2 separate regions of the Homo sapiens genome follow, and region 2 is linked to region 1. The links are contacts of gene promoters, found by promoter capture Hi-C in blood cells and fetal thymus (Javierre and others, 2016). All regions are on one chromosome and are shown on one strand. The core of a region is centred on a gene start or on the middle of the fragment in contact, and the rest is flanking DNA. Distances in the headings are between cores, read along the strand shown. Region 1 holds the start of SLC2A12 (solute carrier family 2 member 12). Region 2 overlaps ALDH8A1 (aldehyde dehydrogenase 8 family member A1).

Evidence for each region. The method cuts DNA at HindIII sites, captures the fragments that hold promoters and counts their contacts. A CHiCAGO score of 5 or more calls a contact.
Region 2: a contact is called between a fragment that was not itself captured here and the fragment with the promoter of SLC2A12 in region 1, in 5 of 17 cell types (M1 macrophages, M0 macrophages, non-activated CD4 T cells and 2 more). The highest score is 7.5, in M1 macrophages.

What each region holds. Positions count from the first base shown.
Region 1 is chr6:134,049,642-134,057,072 of GRCh38, reverse strand. SLC2A12 (solute carrier family 2 member 12) reads left to right here and starts at 4,449. Exons shown (of 5, transcript NM_145176.3): 1 at 4,449-4,695. The coding sequence starts at 4,593. The HindIII fragment of the contact is 5,616 bases long and covers 1,508-7,123 here.
Region 2 is chr6:134,935,704-134,943,134 of GRCh38, reverse strand. It overlaps ALDH8A1 (aldehyde dehydrogenase 8 family member A1), which reads left to right. Exons shown (of 7, transcript NM_022568.4): 3 at 571-726; 4 at 3,720-3,869. Among named protein-coding and RNA genes, the nearest start is that of ALDH8A1, 11 kb to the left of the region's middle. The HindIII fragment of the contact is 2,239 bases long and covers 3,590-5,828 here.

The DNA.
Region 1 (7,431 bases), core at 3,200-5,699:
AAAAGCTGCCCTTTCTTCAGGTTAGTATTGTCATATTCTGGAAGATTTGCTTTATAAATAAGCAAACTTCTGCTGTCTGCAAATGAGAATGACCCACTTAGAGTTGTACTGTGTCCAAATTGCACAATGGTATATGGCAGCCCTAAGTATGAAGAAGTTTTCTTCAAATTTATATTTATTATATATACAATCTGATAGAAGCATTAAGCAAACAACTTTTAAGACAGTACTTTTTACACATGATTTACCACCTCAACCTATTAGTTATTTTCAGTTGTTCCAAGTTTCCTTCCAGTCTCTACCAATAGGCGCATATATTTTAAGAAAGTATTGTAATAGTAATGAGTATGCAACTTTCTGTATGCCACTTTGATTCTCCCACTTAAAATAATTGGAAAAACATTTTCTTGCATTGCTACATTGTCTTTCTTTTAATGATTTATCACATGTTATAGCAAGTGAACATACCATAATAAATTTAACCACACTTACTTTGTAATTTGAGGAACTTTAATCAACATGTTATGAGTGATAATATTCTACACCTAAGGAAAGAAGTCATAATGAAAACTTTCAGATAGAGAAGTTATTTAGATAGTATAAACAGTGAAATAATAAACATCCTTCCAAACAATCATACCAAGATGAATATTTTATTGCAATTAGGCTAAACAAGAAGTGAATTTGTATTTGGAATTTTTTTGTTTGCATAAAGACCATATTTTCCCATTTGTGTTTACACTGTAATGAACCATTGTAGAAGGTGCATTCCACATCAATGTGCACTGCAGGGTGCACTGCAGGGAAACAATACGGTGTAGTGAAAAGCATTTGGGTTTTGGAATCAAATGGACTTGAACTGCTGTGCTCTGAAATGTTATGTTCTGCATAAAAAGACTTGTGCAAGAGTGCTCATAACAGTTTTATGTGTAATAGCAAAGAATTGGAAACAGCCCAGATGTCCATCAATAGGAAAATGGATAAACTGTGGTGTATTCACCCATATAACACTATTCAGCAATAAACAAAATGAACTACTAATATACATAAAAACATGGATGGATATCAAAACTATGCTCAGTGAAAGACTCCTTACACAAGGCTGCATTCTCTGTGGTTCCATTATATGAATTAAGGTTTAGAACAAGCAAAGGTAATCTATGTGGAAAAATATCAGAAAATTGGTTGCTTCTGGAGCTTTTTTGTCTTGAAAAAAAGAACCTAGTATTGAACTCTATTTAATAATATGCATTCTGAAGTATTTCAACTTACTTTGATATGTATAAAAACTAATACGGATCGACTGATGGATGGAAGAATTGTTATATATAGATGTGAATGAGCAAGCATGGTAAAATGTCGAGTGTAGGTTTTCCTGTGGGATTCAAATTTTTATAATTCAACATTGGAAAATGTTTTGATCTTAGAAATGTTTCATAAACTTCTCGGTTTCAGTTTCTGCAAAATGGAAGTAACGGTATTTACTTCACAAGGTTTTTGTGAAGCTTTTAAAAAATTGCCATGAAAATAGGCATGCTCTATGGTAGATGTTTACGAGCCCTGTGAAGCTGCTTGTCTTTCATCCCCTCTTCCCCGCTGTGCCAGTTTATAAGTCAGGATAGGTGTTTTTGGATTTGGTAGCATTGCCTATGAGCAGTGGTCCAAAGTGGTATGTAGCAAAATTATTGGGGTTATGAAGAATGAACTGTCTGCTGTCTGCTGATTATGAATTCCTTGAGTGGAGGAACAGATTTTAATAATGGAAGTGGCTCAAACTCCAGGGAAGATGGATAGCCTGTGGTTATACTTGGTCTAAAGGAATTGGCAGAAACAGAGAGGAAGGACAAAATGTCATAGGCAATCATCATATGGATTTTAATATTTAAAAACTAAATAGTTATTTAGTCACTAAAAGCTCTATTTGTGAGCACTCATTTATCTAACAAATATTTATTAAGTGTCTACTGCATGCCTGGCATTGTGTTAGGAGCTGGACGAATGTGCAAGATAGAAATAGGTGCCTGCCCTCTTGGAGCATACATTCTAGTGTTGCTAAAGTTTATTGGATTTACAGGGATCAGTCTGTCAGCCAGCAAATACTTACTGAGTATTTGCTGAGTGCCAGACACGCAGAATACTATAATAAACTAAACAAACATAGTCCATACTCTCATAGAGTTTGCAATCTAGCAGAAAAGGCAGATTTAATTGAATCACCGCATTTAACTGTATTAAATACATTATGGTGTGCAAAAGGCTGGGAAGGAGAAGTACAGGGTTCGTAACAGAATTGAGGCAGAGTTTCCCCCCTCTAGTCTGGGTGAAAAAAATTTTCTCCCCTAAACTTTTCTCTGAGTTAAGAGATTGAGGTAAGTACAAACAGAGCTTGAGATAGCCAGTGGCCCCGGTCAGGTCACCAGCAGAATAAAGAACAGAATTAGGAGCACCAGGAGGTGATGTTGTCAGTTGCATTGCTGAGCATTCTTTTTGACTCCTGGTTGGCTTACTATGCCTGTGGATCTCCTGTATGGTTTGGCTACACAAAACAGAGTGAGAACTGTTGAACTGCTTTTAACCATAGTAAAGTATTCTGGAATTAGTTTTGTCTTCTGTCTAGTCAAGCACTATAGCAAACACTCTAACACTCCCATGGGGCCAAGAAGCTGCTAGAAACACAGGTTGTGGGATCACGAAACAAAGCAATGATACAACTAACCCATTGCAAGAACATTTTCCCCCTAATGAGGTCATTGGTTCTGAGCAGAAAGAAGTTAGAAGCCAAGAGAATATAGAGAACTTATGGGAAACATATGTGTCTCACAGATAGAAACTGGGACTCCTATATAATTATAATGCACCCTGGGAACAAATAAAATGAGTTGTTTCAAACCATGGTTGCGTTACACATTCTTTAGTGGGGACACTGATGTGTGGGATTCTGAACTTCTCACCCTCTTAATCATAAGGGGCCTGGATTATGCCTGGAGGACTTCCATTTTCTAGCACTATCAGCAGACATACAACGGGTACATAATAAAGACTAGTTGAATTATTATAGGTTTGTTTCCATTTGCTACCTGTTTCCCTGAAAGATAAGAAAAATATAGAATTATTTAATGACAAGCAAAGGAAATGTACAAATAAGTGAATTTAGAACTTTGAAGTGATTCAGTTAAAATGTTGAAAAGAAGTAACAAAAATTTAGCTTCTGCTTATACAAGCACAAATTTGTTTTTCTGTCCAGAGAAATGCCTATGACTAAAAGCCATATTTCACGGCATCTTCTTAAAGTCGAGTAGGTCTGAAACCATAGGAAGCCAAGAAAATTAGAGAAGGACAAGGCTGGGAAGTTAGAATATAGGAGAGTTACAGCTTTAGACCTCCTGGATTCATAATCTCAGCTCTACCACTGATTAGCTGTGAGACTGTAGCCAAGTTACCCAACCTCCATTTCCTCTTCTATAATGTTGGTACCTGCCTCAAAGTCATCATCTGCGTTATTGCGCTTAGCACAATTTCTGGCACATAAGTGCTCCACACATGTTAGTTTTTATTCCAAATGATTTTTAAGATGATCTCAATTTCCTCTATAAGGCTTTTTTTTTTAATAAACATGATTTGTTGAATGAATAACTGAAGGTAAAATGTCATAACCCTGTAAGACTTTTTTATAAATATGTTCACAAATCAGAAAAAGATCCTCTCTCATGACCTGATTTTGTTTGAGATTACATGTCCACCACACGCACACAATGGGCCACTTAGTCTGGCCTCTCTGAGTGAGGAGTATCCTCCTCCTACCTACGCAAACATGAAACCTAACAGAGGATTCAGTGTTAATTTGTCTCTTAAAGACAATTCTGCATTAAGAAATGGATTACTTTGCTATAACCTCAGCATATAAAAAGTCTAAAGAATCTGTGCATTCTGAGTTTGTGTATTTTTGGTCTCAGGCTGTGATTTATCTGAAAGGCCTTGGAGAGAAAGATATAGGCCTTTACCTAGACCAAAATCAGGTTGAAACAATAAAGGTATTTTATGCTTTGTGTAAGCTGGTAAATACCATGACTTTTGGAATAACAGTCTTGCTGAAAAATTGACACACTTTTCCTTCTGGTATGTCTTTGCATAAATTGTTCCTCTTTCTGCAAGATTAACTGATACCATCTGTGAGTATTCTATCCCCACTCTCAGCTTGCATTTAAATCTGCATGTTTCCTTTCTCTGCCTCTTTTCAAAGGTGCTAGAATACAAGAGCTACCCTTAGCTAATGGCCAAACACTCCGTCTGAGTTCCCTTTCTTTTAACCCCTTGCTTCCAACTCTGCATCTAAAGGCAAAAACAATCCTCTGACTCACGGCCCTCCCCCTGCCTGTGATAGGCTGCTTGGAATAGCAACAGCCTGTGTCACCGAAAAGGGCAAAGCCTTCGGAAATAGAAACAAAGTTGGTCACAAATCACATTAGCTTTGCCCGAAGTTTTTCCCCACACTCTTCTTTAGCATGCTATTATGGGGAAAGTGACCACTCCTGGGAGCGGGGGTGGTCGGGGCGGTTTGGTGGCGGGGAAGCGGCTGTAACTTCTACGTGACCATGGTACCTGTTGAAAACACCGAGGGCCCCAGTCTGCTGAACCAGAAGGGGACAGCCGTGGAGACGGAGGGCAGCGGCAGCCGGCATCCTCCCTGGGCGAGAGGTAAAGTGAGCCTGCAGTGCTCGGGTGACCGCAGAGAAGCAAGCTGTACTCATCTCCCGAGTGTACTGTCTCTTGAGTCCCGTGTGTGTGTGTGTGTGTGTGTGTGTGTGTGTGTGTGTGTGTGTGTATGCGCGCGCGCGCATGTGGGCGCGCTGGATGAGTGGAGAGAAGGGGACAGGGTCTGGTGGGACGTGGGACAGCTCGGAGCTGTAATGTTGTGAAGATCGAAGTCTTGGTGGAACCTTATGTGCCAAGAAAATACAGGTTACACATCCACCACTGGTATGATGGGTCCCCTTGATTGTGTTTACATAATACAATGTATGGATGTTTTTCATATTGGAACGGTCCACTGGCAAAGATAGTCTCATTTGTAAACACACACAAGCACACGCTTGCTTACACTTTTTCATTTATTGTCACAAATGGACACTGTGTAACCAGTTGACATTATAACCACTGTTTTAAAAATCAGTATTTTAAACAGGCTTCATAAAATTATTAGTTATGTAATCAATGAGAACACAAACTTCCTTTTTAAATTCCCAGCACGTTTGTGATGAATTTGAGCGTTATTCAGAGCCTGAAACGCTTGCTTTGCTGGGTTCTGCCTTCTTTAAAACTGGCCTTGCAAACTGAGGTTTGTTTGCTATGATGACCTTCTGAAGGTGAAATTTGGAAAAGTTTTAATTCATTTAATGATCTTTGATAAATCAGAGGCTGGTCTTCACTTCCACATTTACAATTCCCACAAATACATTGTACGCTTTTTGCTGCCTCTTCCTGCTCATTTAGTTTGTGCTGCAAGGAATAGAAAGTAATTGTAATATGAAATGACAACAAACACAAAAAATCTTCTCTTTCCTACTACTTTCCTCAGCTGTGTATTCTTAATCAGATATTACATTCCCAAGCAGCATATAGAAATTTCATGCAAAATCCAATACACTAAATGATACAAAAGACATCTGCCTTTCTCTTGGGAATGGTCCTAATACTGACGTTTGCCTTGTGGGTTTGTCTGATCTTGGGGAATCGAACCTGTGACCCCTAACATCGAGGCATGAAGCGGCCCTCTTCAGGAGTGGAGAAGCCCTCCATCTTCCATGTCCTGATCTCTTCTCTTGCTTTCACACTTCTCGTCAAGAATGAGGCCGGGCGTGGTGGCTCATGCCTGTAATCTCAGCACTTTGGGAGGCCAAGGTGGGCAGATCACTTGAGGCCAGGAGTTCAAGACAAGCCTGGCCAACAGAGCGGAAACCCTATCTCTACTAAAAATACAGAAAAATAAAAAAATTAGCTGAGCATAGTGGCACATGCCTGTAATCTCAGCTACTCAGGAGGCTGAGGTACAAGAATCACTTGGAGGTTACAGTGAGCTGAGATCATGACACTGCACTCCAGCCTGGGTGACAGAGTGAAACTCTGTCTAACATAATAATAATAATAATAATAAAAGAATATCTGGGGTCATCTTTCAATATGGCCTGTCCTCTCCTATGCAGAAGTACCCTTTTCCCTAAGCGCTTGCTACTCATTGGCCCACAAGTTCCCTAAGAGCAGGCAAGGGAAACTTATATTTGGAGATAAAGGGAAAGAGTTGCAAAGTTCTTTTCTCCAAATTCCTGGGAACATGAGCTGCAGTCTAGACTGCAGAGCAAGCTGAGGTGGTGATGTTAACAAAAGGGCTCACTAAATACAGTCAGTGATAATGTCACAAAGAAGATGAAAAGAAACTGCCTAGGAAGAGCCTTTGTAGTAACCATTAAAAATGGACTGTTTATTTTGATATGGCTTTGAAGGTACAATGTGCTCTTAATAGCTTATATTGTACAAATTCACAATTATCCAGAAGAAAGATAATGTGTATTTACATTTGCAATAGTTGGTTACATGCACAAAATTCAACTTAAAGTGCAACTGTTTATGTTGTAAAGAAATAATAAATGAATAAGTACCATAAATTATCTTTCAAATTTAATTTTAAATTAACTTTCATTTTGTAGAAGAGAAAGCCTGAATGTTTCCTTAAAATGTCAGATGAATACAACTTTGATTTGTGCTATACATAATCTGCATTTAGATGAATGCAAACCTTTTATTTTCTACTTTTGTAAATTTTCTTAACTTATCTTAAACATCTTTTGGCACCCAAAAGCAATTATACATACATATGTATAAATGAATGCATAGTGCAGACTTGCTGTATGGTTTTCTTAAGTTACTTAAAGTCTCCATTCATTAATATTGGGATTGTATCTTCATCTATTTTATGAAGGTGTTGAGATTTAATGAGGTAATATTTGTCAAATACTCCTTTTGGCTTCTTCATATTTTCAACTTCCATAGTTTTCATTTAAGACATTCAGAGTATTTAAATTATGCTCAACAATTATCACAATATGTCTGCATTTGAAGGTAGCAAGCTTTTCTACATTCCTAGATGGAAAAATCAAAGCACAAAGAGGAATGAGTTATATAACTCAGGACAAGGTAATTAAATCATGTGAGATACTGAAAAACAAAACAAAACCAACCCCCTAAGGTCTGCAGTTGAACTCCCTTGATGCTATTGTGCACAGTGAAAAATTTTGGTAGGTCTTTCTTGACTAACCCTCTTTAACTGAAAAGAATGCTTTGTTCCAATGACTAGAAGCTAATGAACTTAATTCATTTTCAATAAGCTATGACTCAAAGTGGTTACATTTTTAGTAAATTTTTTCAGCTTTCATGGAC
Region 2 (7,431 bases), core at 3,460-5,959, 890 kb before region 1:
TCTAGGTAAGCTTCTGTTTCTCTTTCTGTTCCATCCAGGAGCTAGGACGTGCAGGGCATGTGATGGGCAAGCAGGTGCCACACAGCATCCCGTGCCAGGGCATTCCCAGCCGCTCTTCTGATGACTCTACCATGTGTGGGGAGGTCATGAAATACACATTACATGTGTATAAAAGTGTTTCGTTTTGTGCTGTGCAATTACAACTGTCCTAACACCCGTATTTCAATGCCTTTGTCGCAGGTACAAAGCCTGGTGATTTTGAATTGCAAGAGTTTGTGTGGGTGAAGTGGTAGCATCTGGCAAACTGGTGATGAGAATGATGTGTTCAGTTCACAGAACAAAGATTATTGACTCAATTTTAACCCCCCACCTCAGTTTCCAACCTTATACCTAAATATTGTATGGTTTTATCAAACCATGATCAAGTCTTTGTGAGGTCAAGGAATGCCTGCCCCGGGCTAGAAGGAATCCAGGCTGTTTCAGTGTGAGTTGGGACGCGTGGGCAGTGGAAGCTGATGGATAGAGTGTCCCCATTAGCTGATAGTGCTTTATGTTGTTTGCTTCTTACAGGGAAAACCTTAGCACTGGCAAGAACCATGGACATTCCCCGGTCTGTGCAGAACTTCAGGTTCTTCGCTTCCTCCAGCCTGCACCACACGTCAGAGTGCACGCAGATGGACCACCTGGGCTGCATGCACTACACGGTGCGGGCCCCGGTGGGAGTCGGTGAGTGCTGTTCAGTGAGAGCCCACCTCCCGGTTATGCTTGCAGATGCTCACAACATTCTATGGCATTGTCCTCAAGGAACAGGTTAAAGAAAAGGAAGAGCTGATATTTTTCTTTTCTAAAATCCATTGGCCTCAAAGATCTATTTCTAGTTTATTTTCTTTGTGTCAAATTCCCTGCTTTTCTTTTTAGACAGCGTCTTGCTCTGTCGCCCAGGCTGGAGTGCAGTGGCATGATCTCGGCTCACTGCAACCTCTGCTTCCCGGATTCTAGTGATTCTCTAGTCTCAGCCTCCTGAGTACCTGGGACCACAGGTGCGAGCTACCACACCGGCTAATTTTTGTGTTTTTAGTAGAAACAGGGTTTCACCCATGTTGGCCAGGCTGATCTCAAACTCCTGACCTCAAGTTATCCTCCCGCCTCGGCCTCCCCAAGTGCTGGGATTACAGGCGTGAGCCACCACGCCAGGCCTCATGTTCATGACTTATCTGGAAAATCATAGGGAAAAGAATGATGCTAAGAGTAAATATGTAAATTCACATGCCAGGATTTTTTTTTCTACTTATATTTAAAAAAGGAAAAATCAGGCTGGGCGCAGTGGCTCACGCCTGTAATCCCAGCACTTTGAGAGGCTGAGGCAGAAGGATCATCTGAGGTCAGGAATTCGATCAGCCTGGCCACCATGGTGAAACCCCGTCTCTACTAAAAATACAAAAATTCACCGGGCGCGGTGGCTCATGCCTGTAATACCAGCACTTTGGGAGGCCAAGATTGGCGGATCGCCTGAGGTCAGGAGTTCGAGACCAGCCTGGCCAACATGGCGAAACCCCATCTCTACTAAAAATACAAAAAGTTAGCTGGATGTGGTGGCGGGCACTTGTAATCCCAGCTACTTGGGAGGCTGAGGCAGGGAGAATTGCTTGAACCCAGGAGGCCGAGGTTGCAGTGAGCTGAGATTGTGCCATTGCACTCCAGCCTGGGCGACAAGAGTGAGACTCGGTCTCAAAAAAACAAAACAAAACAAAACAAAAAAACCCAGCCGGGCGTGGTGGCATGCATCTGTAGTCCCAGCTACTTGGGAGGCTGAGGCAGGAGAATCACTTGAACCTGGGAGTCGGAGGTTGCAGTGAGCTGAGATGGTGCCACTGCACTCCAGCCTGGGTGATAGATCGAGACTCTGTCTCAAAAGAAAAAAAAAAGAAAGAACTATTTATGTACATTAAATAAATTAATAAGTGTAGGGCATGTAGTATGGTGCCAGGTGTGTGATAAATAAGCCTCTACTGAGAATTATCTTACTTCATGCATTCCTTTGCCTCTTGACCTTTGGAAGAACGTATAAATAAATGTCTGTGATGACTAAAACCTTCCACCAGATGTCACTGTTTCCTCGGAGAAAAAAATCATCTTTTTAGCTTATTACATTTTATGAATATAAGCTAAAAGGAAAACAATTGGGACATCTCATTGCTTTGGTTACTTGAAACCTTCAGAAATTATGTTTTCAAGGCATTGTGGAAAGCTCTACCTCCTCCTAGGAAGTGTGCTAATATATTTTGCTGCAAAAATATTTTTATCCCCTAAAGAATGGATTTTTCAGTGGGAAATTTAATAATATAAAAGATGCATTTACTTTCATAGCACAGGCTTGAGGGAAGAGTATAAAATAAGGTGAATCAATTTCCTTTCAGAAGGTAGATTTTTATATTTGTTTGTTTTGTGATTGGAAACCTGGATAGGTTCAGAATATTGCATGGAGACACATTCTAGCTGCTGGTTACGTTACTCATCCAGCAAATCTATCTGGTCAGGATACAAGTGACAATCTAGAGAGAATTTTTATTTAAAAATATTCTAAATAGCCAAAATGGATGTCACAGTCCATGCACCAAAGGTTATTGGCTTTACTGATAGGAGGGCCCTCACATGGAACACTCAGAACTCATTGGCCCCTATTTTATGAATAATTATATAAAGCTTGAGATTTTATGTCTCAACCCATGACAGATTTGAAGTAAAGGTAAAGAAACATGTTAGAAGAAATAACAGCCAGACCGTTAAAATAATGGGGAAGGAGACATTTTTGAAAAAGTAAAGCTCAGTCTATAAATCTCAAAATGCGTCACATTCTGGAACTGTTTAGTGACAGGTGACAACTGTTTTTTTATTTTTTATTTTTTTTTGAAGTTCCAGGGTACACGTGCAGGACGTGCAGGTTTGTTACATAGGTAAACGTGTGCCATGGTGGTTTGCTGCACCTATCAACCCATCACCTAGCTATTAAGCCCAGCATGCATTTGCTCTTTATCCTAATGCTCTTCCCCCCGACTCTCCCCTGACAGGGCCTGCTGTGTGTTGTTCCTTTCCCTGTGTCCATGTGTTCTCATTGTTCAGCTCCCACTTATAAGTGAGAACATGCAGGTGTTTGGTTTTCTGTTTCTGTGTTACTTTGCTAAGGATAATGGCTTCCACCTTCATCCATGTGCCTGCAAAGGACATGATCTCGTTCCTTTTTATGGCTGCATTGTATTCCATTGTGTATATGTACCACATATTCTTATCCAATCCATTATTGATGAGCATTTGAGTTGATTCCATGTCTTTGCTATTGCTATTGTGAATAGCAAAGTGCTGCAATGAACATACGCGTGCATGTATCTTTATAATAGAATGATTTATATTTCTTTGGGTATATGATAGGTGACAACTCTTTAGCTCTGGAGTTTATATTGCTGTTGTTCATAATCATGAACTGCCAAGAAATGGGGAAATCATATTGACTTTACTCTGTTTTAAAAGATACAGTTGCTTGGAATATATTTTAGAATTATTTCCCTGAAAGTGGCTACAAATAAGCAAAGCTTGGGAAGAAGTTAGAAGAGTAAGCTAAGTTTTCTGCAGCATGAAGGAGTTTTGCGTTAATAACCCCACTTGGCCAGTCCACCTCAGAGGGGTATGCCGTCACAGGCAGTGCTTCTGCTCTCATCCCTTAGCTGGTCTGATCAGCCCCTGGAATTTGCCACTCTACTTGCTGACCTGGAAGATAGCTCCAGCGATGGCTGCAGGGAACACTGTGATAGCCAAGCCCAGTGAGCTGACTTCAGTGACTGCGTGGATGTTGTGCAAACTCCTGGATAAAGCAGGTAATTAGGTGTTGGGGTTGGGGGGCAGGCACAGAGTTGGAGCAAACCTATAGTTTATAGAAATCTTCCACTCAGCAGCACAATCGATTCCAGTGACATCATGGGCTTTGTCTTTCTGATCCTTGTCTGGGAAATCCCCTCCACCCACAGGGTTCCCTCACCCTGCTTCCTGTCTTCAACACCAGAACGGTGCTACTGCAGGCAAGTTCCACTCCCCAGGGTGGGCGACTGGCAGCACAATAGTGACGCAGACTTAAACAGCCCCATCAAATCAAAGACACCTGCCTGCTCCAGAGAGTCAATTAAAATCTTAAGTTGGGGCCAGGTGTGGTGGTTCACGCCTGTAATCCCAGCACTTTGGGAGGCTGAGGTGGGTGGATCACGAGGTCAGGAGATCGAGACCATCCTGGCTAATACGATGAAACCCCGTCTCTACTAAAAATACAAAAAATTAGCTGGGCGTGGTGGCGGGCGCCTGTAGTCCCAGCTACTTGGGAGACTGAGGCAGGAGAATGGCATGAACCCAGGAGGCGGAGCTTGCAGTGAGCCGAGATTGCACCACTGCACTCCAGCCTGGGCGACAGAGTGAGACTCCGTCTCAAAAAAATAAATTAAAAAATAAAATAATAATAATAATAATAAAATAAAATCTTGAATCACAAGTTAATCCTGATGACAATAAGAATATTGCTAGGTACACCTACAGTTTGCTTGGCTATAGAATACCTAGTAGAAGTAGCCCGATTTCAAGAGATCTAAATATACATCCTTCAGTTTTTCCTGCCTTTGGGACTGCTACTGGAAAGCTAATACAATATGGCCTCTTCCTAGCATATCAAGGTTCACACGTTTGCTCCTTGTTCTTTTTCTGCTAATAGTTTATTGGCCGCATTCAGGATGCGCTCCTGGTTTTGTTCTGGGCTGTAGCTCCGCACAGGCACAGGCTGGCACTGTTTGAAGGCAGCAGGCAGGAGACCCCAGCAGCCCTCCTGTGAGAAGTCCCCTTAATGTGAGGTCTTTTTGCTATGTCACCCCACGGCCAGGGCAGGAGTGCTGGGTGGGGGAGACAGACTCACTGTCTTTCTAGTTGGTCTCCTTGCTGCCTTTCAGCCCATAGAGAGGCACTGCTGGGCTCTCCTGTATCCACAGAATGCCCGGTGGGTAAGAGTCCGTCCCTCTCTCCCGCTTCGGAACACCTTTCTTAGAAGCACAGACATACACATTAACTTCCAGTAAACCCTAGCCAGTTCTTTACTCCACGAGGAAGATGAAGGCTCAAAACTGAGGCTGTTTAGGGAACGGCACTGGGCCTTACGATCCCAGGGTCCTCCAGAGGAATGAGGCCTCCCAGCCTAGGACTCTGATTTGTCATCTATGGAGCTCCCAGGCTTCGAGGTGGAGGGGGTGGGGCGGGGTATATCATTTAAATGTGCCGACCCTTCCCATGTTCCTCCCCTACAAAAGACCTCACAGTCTAATCCCATTCTTTGTAAAATGAGGTCTGTGGTGTCTGCAAAGGCGCGACATACTTCTTCCCTGCCTGGTGACTGCAGGTTCCCCAGAGTGGACTAGGCCTGGGGCTTGCCCTCTACTGGGATTTGGAGGCAGGGGTGGCGTGCAGAGCCGTGTTCCCTTAACCACTCTCTCCTGAGACCAAGAACGTCTGGATAGATGATGAGTTATCTTTCCCAGCCAGTCTGCCCTGAACCTGGCCTGCATGACAGTTTCTGTTTCCATCTCTGCACAGCATTGATTTTATTTCTTGGGAACTAGTAAGCCCATTAAACTAAGACAGCCCTTCTCCTCTTTCCTCCATGGGCTGAAACTTCCTCCCCTGACAAATATAGAGGGGGTCATGTTCACCTTGCTCCTCTCTTGAGCCCTCAGTTTCTCCACTGGGATTGGAAGGAATGCGAACCACATCTGTGTCATCTGCTTTAGAGCAACGTAAGAGAAGCTTTTAGTAGGGGAGGGAAAAGCGAAAATAACTAATTCGTTCTGGATGTTTAAAGAGTTAGCTCCTCTAGTCCTGGGCATTTAAACAGACTTGACAGATAAACTTCCTTTAAAATAAACTCATTTTTAAGATGACACAGTGAATACTTCTGTGGGATTCCTGGAATAGTCATTTCTTCTTGGAAATTTGCCCTCATTCCTGGAGTGCCCACTGACTGCGTTTTCCTGGCCCTTCCCATTAGGTGTGTGTGTGGAGCAGGAGATGTGTGTGTGTAGGTGGGTGTGTGTGTGTGCTCTATTTAAGCCTAAAATTTTTCTTGTTGCCACCCTGCCAAGCCCCTACATTTGAGGGGTTTCCTTCTAGTCTGTTCTCGTCTGTTCCTAACTTGTCTGTTAGCCACCTCCCCTGAGTTTTGCTAAATTGCTATTTGTCAGTTAAACTGCTTTCCTTCTCTTATCACCAGAATCTCTTCAAGGTTAGAGGGCAGACATCTCAAGAAAAATTCCATTAATTTCTGGATAAAATGTCAAAATGGTACTGAGAAATAATGGCCAGCTGACATTAGCATCCAAGCCCAAGGGAATGTAGTCAAAATGATAATACTGTCGTGGGGAAAGCAATCCGCTGCCGCAGTGAGCGCATTTTACTGTGGGGATAAATATGCAGTGCTTCCGCATTCTCTCTCACCCTCAGTTAAAATGCTACTCTGAACATTAGCAGTGATTCCATTCATTTTTTGCCTTCAGGATTGATAAAGCCTAACAGTCCACCCCCTCCTGCCCCACACCCCATCCACCCACATGCATGCCCCATCACTGGTGGAGATGTGGGGCCCTACCCAGGAAACTGTGGGAGACTTGTCCTTGTTTCGTCGCATCACCTACTGAGGGGGATCCTCTCCTTCCACACTTTCCTTTGCCCCAACCCAAAGCTGGGGTGCTCTCACATGGTGCCAGCCACTCCTCTGACAGTGACCTACAATCCAGGACTGACCTAAGCTAGATTTCAACAAATGTGCATGTTGGGTAAAGAGATGCAATGCTTAGAAGTGGTGCTTTGGCCAGGCATGGTGGCTTATGCCTGTAATCCCAGCACTTTGGGAGGCCAAGGTGGGTGGATCACCTGAGGTCAGGAGTTCAAGACCAACCTGGCTAACGTGGTGAAATCCCATCTCTACCAAAATACAAAAACTAGCTGGGGATGATGGCAAGTGCCGGTAATCCCAGCTACTTAGGAGGCTGAGGTGGGAAAATCGCTTGAACCTAGGAGGCGGAGGTTGCAGAGAGCAGAGATTGCGCCTTTGCACTCCAGCCTGGGTGACAGAGCGAGACTCCATCTCAAAAAAAAAAAAAAAAGAAGTGGGGCTCTGCTAGGCACCATCACAACTTGTGGAATCTTCCCACCTGTCTCCTGAGGACTCACTGGGATGGGACCTTCACTGTAGCTTCAAGGTGATTGGGCCAAGGCTGTGGCTGTATGGGAGAATGTTCTGGATGATAATGGATCATCAGTGTGAAATTAGTATTTATATTATTTATAATTTAAAAGTAGATTCTGGAAGAAATGGGTTGTATCCAAAGGAGTATGTTTCTAATGAGGAGAGAT